Linked DNA regions of Homo sapiens: region 1 is linked to region 2. Evidence: promoter capture Hi-C in human tissues and cell types (Jung and others, 2019). All regions are on one chromosome and are shown on one strand. The core of a region is centred on a gene start or on the middle of the fragment in contact, and the rest is flanking DNA. Distances in the headings are between cores, read along the strand shown. Region 1 holds the start of TRIM28 (tripartite motif containing 28). Region 2 overlaps ERVK3-1 (endogenous retrovirus group K3 member 1).

Region 1 (4,382 bases), core at 1,752-4,251, 230 kb before region 2:
CCTTCCCCACACTGTTCCCTTTACTGAACACTTCTCCAAGTGGACATACTCAGAATTCTGCCTACACACCACCCTGGATTCCTTTTCTTCTCCTTTCATGGTTAACTTCCTCCCTCTTCCCTGACAAGAGAACACCAGGGTCTCTTACAATCCAAGGGCCCAGAGGAAACCTTGTAGAGGTTCTCATACTGGGAGAGATGAAATGTCAAACCAGGACCCTCAGAATGGTGGTCACACCCCCTCTAGAGCAGAATCTTGGTGCTCAGCATAATCCCACCCAAAGACCAACCCATTAATAACCTCCAAAGCCTGTCTCCCCATTAGAAAACTGATCAAACACACTGGTCCCACATACCAACCAAATCCAAAATATGTAGCATCAGGGCTCATTGGGGAAACTGACTTCCCCAATGCCACTCATTCCTGCACCCTGACCTTTGCCTGGGACGTCTGGAATGTAGGACACCCTGCAGCCCCTGCGTATCCCTCCTGGCTGCTCAGGCCCCACAGCCACCACCTTCCCGCTATCTTCCACCAATGCTGTCCTCTGGGATGGGAAGAATCACAGTATGGCTACCAAAAGGCCACTCATGGGAGGATTCTGGCCCCAAAACTTGGCTAGACTCAAAAGACTCTCAAGCTCCTTCCAAACCAAAGCTAGCTGTGTCTGTGAAAAGCTGGAAATGCCAAACCAAACTTTGGGTAAGTCTCTGCCAACTCAAAAGCTAAAACACTTCCAAAAATCATCATCACTTATAATCCATGGACCCACAGTCTACTTTCCCTAGCAGCATCTTATACCAGATGTGTGCCAGGGAACCACAAACCCAGAAAGCCCTTCACACCATGCCTTTCCCTGTTTGCATATGCTGAGCCCTTCACCACCAGGTCTGACAACTCCCTGATAAGCCTTCTCAAACCCTTTGTACCTCCCTGCAGCACATTAAGGTCTCCCTTATTTCCCCTTCCCACCCTCTCCCACCTAGGCCCTAGAGACTACACACCACAACCCCAGTTTTTCTGCTTCTGGAGTTCTGCCCTCGGGCCCTTCGGGCGGCACCCCCTAGAGAACTCTAGGACCCATCCACCAGATGCAACCAACATCATAAAAGCAACTGAGGGCACACATGGGAGAACAACTCCAACAGCCCCCCTCAGCCTCATGTACCAGTAGAGCGCACAGTATGGTCCTTGGTGTACTTCACCCGCTGGTGCGCCTCTACACAGGTCTCACACAGAGGCTCCGAGCACTCCACACAGTAGCTGGTGGCTGGGGCATTATCCTCACAGCTAGTGCAGCACTGCCAGACAAAGGCAGGGTCAGAGAAGGCAAGACAACTTGATAGATCCACGTTTACATCCCAGAAAATACAACCGGAGATTTAAGATTGGTCCCTTGACCCAACCTAGGCAGCCCACCCAGAGCCTTGGGAAAGTGGAGTAACAGCCTGGAGCTGGTGCCAAGCTCCTCCTGCGCAGATGCCCCCTCCCCAGAAACCTCCTTGTGGTTGCTGAGATAGGACGCACCTGGTTCGCATCCTGGGCGTCGGTGGCAGCCTTGCTGCCACTATCACGCATGAAATAATTCTCCACGATGTCTTTGGAGAAGCACTGTTGCTTGCACACGGGACAGTCCACCACTTCGAGAAGCAGGGATGTGGGAGACTGTTACAAGTTCCCACCCAGGTTATGGCCCCCACCATTCCCCTGCTGGGTGGGCCCCCGACCATTATCCCGCAGCGAACCAGCCCCTCCCCTCCCCGAGCCTTCTTTTCTCCAACTTTAGTCAGATGTCCCATCTCAGCGGCCAGCACAAACCCACGTTCGTATGCAGGACCCAGAAAGTATTTCCCGTGCCCTGTCCGGGCCCCCATCCTCTCGCCCAGGTGGCATCCTCATCTCTGCACCCAGTCGGAATCAAAGGCAGAGAGTAGGGGGAGGGGTGGCACCGATCACTTCGTACTTACCGGTGCCGTCGCCCGCCGCCCCGCCGTCCCCCGAGCTGTTGGCGGCGGCGGGGGCCGCGGGCCCTAAGCAGGCACTACAGGCCGAGTGCAAACAGGGCAGCAGGCGGGGCTCCCTCTCGGGTCGCAGGCGCTCTCTGCACACGCCGCAGTGCTCCAGCAGCTCCAGCGCCTCGGCGCCGCCCCCCGCGGGCGACGACGCCGCGGCTGAGGCAGAGGCCGAGGCTGCGGCCGAAGGGGCGGTGGAGCGCTTTTCGCCGCCAGCGGAGCCCTCGCCCGGGCCCGGGCTGCCAGAGGCGGCCGAGGCCGCTGCTGCCGAGGCTGCCGCCGCGGAGGCCGCCATTCACACGCCGCCGGGGGCGCCCAGGGGGGGAGGAGGGGCGCGGGGCCCGCCGCGCAGGCGCAGACGCGCTCGCCGCCAACTGCTGGGCCGCTGCCGCCGCCGCCGCCGCGAGGCCGAGCGCCGCCACGCGCCTCCTGGGCCGCTGCCCGCCGCGCGCGGGACGCTGCTACGGCACGGCCAACTGCTGCCTGCTCGCCTCCCGAAGGCGCCGCCCGCGCTTCTTCCTCAGCCGCCGCCGAAACCCGCACCACGCGCCACAAGCACAAGCACAACCGCTCGCCCGCGCGCCCGCTCGCAGAAAGAGCCGAGGCCGGGGGGCGGGACAGAAATAACTGGCGCCGACGCCGCCGCGCACGCGCATTGGGCGCCTCACGCCCGGGGGCGGGGCCCAGGCCGGTCGGTGCGGGAGAGGCCGCCAGTACGCACGCGCCAACTCCTAGTCCTTCCACCACCGCCAACCCCACGTCGGTGGGGCTCTTGTGGGGGCGGGGCGGGGCCTCTGTGACGTCACTGCCGCAATTGAATCCGCCAGTGGGGTATGCGAACCTTTATAGAGTGTGATTCCCCTCTCAGCTCCACCTCCAGACCACACAGAAGCGGGCCGCTGTGCGCCCAAGCGCATGGGCAATCCGTCCCTCTTCCTCAACCCGCGTCTCTTCGCCGCCGTAGAGTCGTCTCCAGCCTCTGCGTCACTAAGAGTTCGGGATAGGGGGCAGGGCCGATGGAGAAGTAGGCGGGGCCAAGACCGAGTGAAGGGCTGTGTCCAGGGAGAGGGGAGGAGAGTCTCCATCCCAAGAGGGAGGAAGCTCCTGTGTGAGCTCGGGTGCTGACTTTTGGATTTTAACCACGCTATAGTTAAACTTGAGAAACACAGAAACTTGACTGAATCAAATGTAGATCACAGCCGGGCGCCGTGGCTCATACCTGTAATCCCACCACTTTCTTAGGCGAGTCGGGAAGCTCCGTTTAGCCCAGGAGGCCGAGGCAGCAGTGAGGCGGGATTGTGCCACTGCACGCCAGCCTAGACCACAGATGGAGAAAAATGTGGCCGGGCGCGGCGGCTCACGCCTGTAATTCCAGCACTTTGGGAGGTCGAGGCGGTTGGATCTTAAGTCAGGAGTTCGAGAGCAGCCTGGCCAACGTGGTGAAACCCCGTCTCTACTAAAAGTACAAAAAGTAGCCGGGCGTGGTGGCAGGCGCCTGTAATCCCAGCTACTCGGGAGGCTGAGGCAGGAGAATCGCTTGAACCCGGGAGGCGGAGGTTGCAGTGAGCCGAGATCGTGCCATTGCACTACAGCCTGGGAGAAAAGAGTGAAACTCCATCTCAAAAGAGGAGAGAAAGGTTTTTGTGTTTGTTTTGAGACGGAGTTTTGCTCTGTTGCCCAGGCTGGAGTGCAGTGGCACGATCTCGGCTCGCTGCAACCTCCGCCTCCCGGGTTCAAGCGATTCTTCTGCCTCAGCCTCCCGAGTAGCTGGGATTACAGGGGCCTGCCATCACGCCTGGCTAATTTTTGTATTTTTAATAGAGACGGGGTTTCACCACGTTGGCCAGGCTGGTCTCGAACTCCCGACGTCAGATGATAGACCCACTTTGGCCTCCCAAAGTGCTGGAATTACAGGTGTGAGCCACCACGCCGGGCCCCCCAACCCCCCATCAAGAAAAAAAATATATATATATATATACACATATATATAAATCACAAGAGGCTAAAGAGCAATGAGTCTGTGAAATCCCACCCAGCCCCCCAAGGCATCCCCTCCCCATGTTTTCGTCAGCAGCTACCCTGACTTTGATGCTTTTCCAGATGGGGAAACTGAACCTCAACAGTGGGGAATCCCAAGGAGGGAAGGAAGCAGGTCCATGTGGGGAGAATCCTGTCTGAGGTGGAAAGTAGGGTTTGTGTGGGGAAAATCCTGTCTGAGGGAAAGAGGGTGTGTGTGCGGAGGGGAACCCTGTCTGAGGAGGGAAGCAGGGTCTGTGTGGGGAGAATCCTGTCTGAGGAGGGAAGCAGCGTCTGTGTGGGGAGAATCCTGTCTGAGGAGGGAAGCAGGGTGTGTGTGGGGAGAATCCTGTC
Region 2 (4,851 bases), core at 1,467-3,966:
TGTGCAAGTGGCATGGCTCTAGGCAGCAAAGATGCCATGAGGTGTTCGTGTTCTGTTTCACAGTCTTTCCACAGAGTGATGCCATTCCATCCTCCTGGGAGTCTGTCCCCATCATACTCACCATAACTCAAGGCATCTGCTAGCCAGATAAGGGGACCCACTTCCACCAAATGACAGCAGCAGCTCCCCTTTCCTGAGCACCTCCTGCAGGTCAGGCCACCCAGCAAACACCTTTGGTGGTACTCTCAACCAATCAAAGGGGAGGTATCATTACTCTCTTTTACAGGTTGGGAAACTGGGGCACAGAGAAGTTAAACCAAAGGTTGTTTGGTAAAGTGACTGGCAGGCGGGGACGTGAAACTTTGTGCTTTCAAAAATACATATACATGTTTTACAGAATTACAAGTGCTCAGCTTAGTGAATTTGGTAAATGCACAGCCCTGTGTAACTAGCATTCAAATTAAATTCTAGAATGTTCTGTGAGGATGGAAAAGTTCTGGAGTTGTGCTGTCCAATATGGCACCATCAGTGTCAGGTAGCTCCTGAGTACTGGAAACATAGCTGGTGTGACTGGGACATGGAACTTGTAATTTTATTTGAATTTAATCATAACTACCATATTGGACAGCGCAGGGCTAGGACATTTCAGCACCTTAGACAGCTCCCCTGTAGTAAGTAGCCCTTCCAGGAAAGGTGTCCCAGCCTAATTTTTTTTTTTTTTTTTTAAGACGTAGTTTTCCTCTTTTGTCCAGGCTGGGGTGAAATAGTGCAATCTTGGCTCATTGGAAGCTCTGCCCCCCGGATTCAAGCGCTTCTCCTGCCTCAGCCTCCCGAGTAGCTGGGATTATAGGCACCTGCCACCATGCCAGGATAATTTTTGTATTTTTAGTAGAGACAGGGTTTTGCCACGTCAGCCAGGCTGGTCTCGAATTCCTGACCTCAGGTGATCTACCCTCCTTGGCCTCCCAAAGTGCTAGGACTACAGGCATGAGCCACCGCGCCCAGCCCAGCCTCTTCTTGAACTTCATGAAAATTATGTGCCCTGTTATAGTCTGAGGCCTCAGCTCCATGCTATCAGGCTTCAAGGACAGCAGCCACAGGATACCTCTATGAGGACTATGTGAGAACAAAGTGAGATGTCAAGTGGGTGAGTGCTCTAAAGAGAAAAATTGATCATTCCTGCTGTACTGAATTCAGGTCCTAACAGAGACTCCCAGGAGGAAGGGCAGATGTGGGGCCTTTTGTTCCTTCCCACGAGACAAGAGTACTGAACAGACTATTTGGGCCCTGATTTGCCCATTACCCACACCTTCCTCCCCATCTTATTCCTAAGCTGAGAATGGCAAGTATGATGGTAGAGGCTGTCAGATCTAGGATCAAATCTTCACCACTCTCTGCTGTAATTCTGGGCTGCTCACCTCCCTTGGGGTCTGTTTCCTATCTATAAAATGGAACCTCCTGTGAAAAGCTTTTTGCTCATTAAGGAATGAATTACATTTAACAAAGTTTTGGATTTTATTAATAAAATGTATGGACATGTTTTTCTCTTGTTAGATAGGTACCTTTGTAACATTCTTGGTTTTCTCTCTGAGCCTACAAAGCTGACATTTGCTGCTTGTGTGTTTTTTGTTTGGTTTTTGAGACAGAGTTTCGCTCGTTGCCCAGGCTGGAGTGCAAAGGCACGATCTTGGCTCACCACAATCTCTATGTCCTGGGAACAAGCGATTCACCTGCCTCAGCCTCCCGAGTAGCTGGGATTACAGGCATGCATCACCACGCCCAGCTAATTTTTTGTATTTTTAGTAGAGACAGGGTTTCACCATGTTGGCCAGGCTGGTCTCATAGGCCCAACCTCAGGCCTGCCTCAGCCTCCCAAAATGCTGGGATTACAGGCATGAGCCACTGCGCCCAGCCTGCTGCTTGTGTTTTACAGAAGAGTTTGCCAACCATACTCTGATGGCCTGGGCAGTGATGGAGGGTTTAAAGAGAGGGGTGGCCTCATCAGTCAGGGGTAAAAGACCCTCTCTACCCAATGCTGAGTGGAGAGTGATGAAGGGGGCAACGGGAGGCAGGAGAACCATGAGGAGGTAGTGGTGTAGAGCAGGCTGAGGAAGGCAGGGCAGTGGAATGAAGGCAGCAGAAGCAGGGTGTGTTTTAGAGGGATATCTGGTTTCTGAAAACATCTAGCCCTGTACCTGCCTCCTGTGCCACTGTGACTGCCACCCCACCATCTACCTCACTCGGCACCTCAGGCTCCATCACCTCACCCTCTCTCTGTCTCCACATTGCTTGGCCTCAGCAGCTACAGGGTAGGGGGCACCCGAGGTCTCAGTCCTGGGCAGAGGTCCCAGGTTGCTAGTGACTCTTGCAGAGACAGGTTTGTTTCCAGGGCCACTGCCGCCTTCTCTTTGATCCTACACATCAGTGTGGCTCTAGGCTCCTGGCTTTGACTTCAGGGGCCCAGGCCTGGGATTCTGGAAAATGAAGTATGGCTAATGAGCACAGGCAGCAAGGAGTGGGTGTGGTCATGGCCATGCATACAGGCACTCCTCGGACAAACAGATACACCCAGGCCAGGCTCTTCACAAGCCTAGGTCCCACCCATGGCCTCCCCTTCCCAAATTAAAAATATACATCCACACAAACACCTGTACATGAATTTTCACAGCAGTAGCATTTATAATATCAGAGAGTTGGAAACAACCCCAATGTCTATGAACTAATGAGTAAACAAACTGTGGTATATCCATACAATGCAGTATTATTCAGCCATAAAGAGGAATGAAAAACTGATACATGCTACAACATGGATGAACTCTGAAAACGTTCAGTGGTAAAAAGCCAGACACAAGAAACCACATATTGTATGACTCCATTTATATGAAGTGTCCAGAAGAGGCAAATCTAGACATATAACGTGGATTAGTGGTTGCCAGAGGCTGGAGGAAGAGCGAATAGGCAGTGATGATAAGGGGTATGAGGGATACTCACACACCTGAGGTCACACCTGCACATACAGGTGGCATCAACACATGCAGGACTGTCGCGGTTGCTTCTGGACCGAACGAAGGACGACGAATGCAGAAATGAGACAGACAAAAGGATCTGTTTGAAAGAAGGGGTCAGGGGGCTCCTTGATATTAGGGAACAGGGACCTGAGCTTTTACAGCCCTTCATATTTATTAGGTAGAGTGAATAGGGAGGAAGGGATAACTGTCGGTCAGCTATTTGATTTAACACAGGCCCACATGATTCCTTTCTTTGTTCAACAGGTTCTGGATGTTCCTGTGGATAACCTCAAGGAGCACGGGACCTGGGACATGACTGCCCCCAGCATTCCTTCTGGCGGCAGACAGAGTTTGTCAGTTCGCCAACATCCTGCTTTCATGAGAACAGTTTGCTGTTTGCTCACAGAGCCTCCAGTGGTATACTGAGTTGGTCACGACCCTCATTCCTTCGGCCTCCAACATCTCCCCTTTTGTTTTTGCATTAATTGAATAAAGGTAATTTCAGGCTGTGCAGCTTTCAATTGCCGGTTGGTGGTTCACCCGATCCTATAGACTATGAGCAAAAAAACAGAGACATAACAACATTATTCTTGTAATTATTATAAAAGAGACATTGAAGTTATGTTTAAGGTAGGTCCAAGGGTTGAGGCTTTTTTTTTTTTTTTTTTTTTTTTGAGATGGAGTCTCGCTCTGTCACCCAGGCTGGAGTGCAGTGGCGCCATCTTGGCTCACTGCAAGCTCTGCCTCCCGGGTTCACGTCATTCTCCCACCTCAGCCTCCTGATTAGCTGGGACTACAGGTGCCCGCCACCACACCCAGCTAATTTTTTTGTATTTTTAGTAGAGATGGGGTTTCACTGTTTTAGCCAGGATGGTCTCGATCTTCTGACCTCGTGATCTGCCTGCCTCGGCCTCCCAAAGTGCTGGGATTATAGGCGTGAGCCACCGCACCCGGCCAGGGTTGAGGCTTTCTAAGCCCTGCTGGAATTCTGTTTAAGCTTCTAAAAAGGGCTGTTATTTTTGAGTTTGCTTATTCAAGTTAAGAATTTTACTCTGTAAGTTACTGATATCAAAAGTAATATTGGATGTAAAAGCTCCCTGCAAATGAGCTTTTACAAGGTTCCATGGATATTCACTTTGGTTCTATTCCAAATTGGTCACACAAATATGAATATGATTGAAATGACAGTGCAATTGCTGCTACAATTGCAAACTTTGTACCTGCTTTCCCAGCCACAGAACAGTAGCCTTTAACATTGCTACCTTTGTTTGTAATTCGGTATTAATTTTATTTTGAAGCATCCATGCCTGGTTGGCTGTACATGTCCAATTTTCTACATATTGGGCTGTTTGAATAGAACTATGTAGTGCTACTGAGGACACTACAACCGAGGTTATTAGTGTGACTAAGGAGATTACAGTAAAAATTACTATGTTTAAGGCTTTACGTGCACGATGAGTGAGCTGGGTAAGAAGGAGTTTTACAAAATGTAAAGCAGGGGTGGCAGCCCAAGGTTTGCACAAATTGACAGGGATCCATAATCCAGGGATACGACCCAGAATTATTAGAGTGGATATGTTGTGTGTTTGTATTGTGCTATGATTGAGGCAGTGATACAGTTGACAAGAGTCACAAGTCAACTGGGTGATGTTTACGTGGAGTTGGTCCTTCTTAGATGCTAGAAAAACATAGGGATTAAAAACACAAACTGGCCGGGCATGGTGGCTCACGCCTGTAATCCCAGCACTTTGGGAAGCCAAGGCGGGTGGATCACGAGGTCAGGAATTCAAGAGCAGCCTGGCCAAGAAGGTGAAATCCCGTTTCTATTAAAAATACAAAAAAC

The links. The method cuts DNA at HindIII sites, captures the fragments that hold promoters and counts their contacts. A contact is called where the count stands out against the background at its distance.
Region 1: a contact is called between the fragment with the promoter of TRIM28 here and a fragment that was not itself captured in region 2, in 1 of the 25 tissues and cell types used here (spleen).

What each region holds. Positions count from the first base shown.
Region 1 is chr19:58,542,683-58,547,064 of GRCh38, reverse strand. It overlaps TRIM28 (tripartite motif containing 28), which reads right to left and starts at 3,001. Exons shown (of 17, transcript NM_005762.3): 1 at 1,968-3,001; 2 at 1,528-1,640; 3 at 1,169-1,301. The coding sequence starts at 2,307. It also overlaps the pseudogene RN7SL525P. RefSeq lists silencers at 1,981-2,270, 2,291-2,450, 2,531-2,740 and enhancers at 2,861-3,170, 3,322-3,826. The HindIII fragment of the contact is 31,195 bases long and covers 1-4,382 here.
Region 2 is chr19:58,313,458-58,318,308 of GRCh38, reverse strand. It overlaps ERVK3-1 (endogenous retrovirus group K3 member 1), which reads right to left. Exons shown (of 4, transcript NM_001396080.1): 4 at 1,497-3,561. The coding sequence ends at 3,526. ZNF8-ERVK3-1 (ZNF8-ERVK3-1 readthrough (NMD candidate)) reads right to left here. Exons shown (of 7, transcript NR_144447.1): 7 at 2,652-3,561. It overlaps LOC105372480 (a long non-coding RNA gene), which reads left to right. Exons shown (of 3, transcript NR_144444.1): 3 at 3,273-3,359. Among named protein-coding and RNA genes, the nearest start is that of ERVK3-1, 11 kb to the right of the region's middle. The HindIII fragment of the contact is 5,451 bases long and covers 1-4,851 here.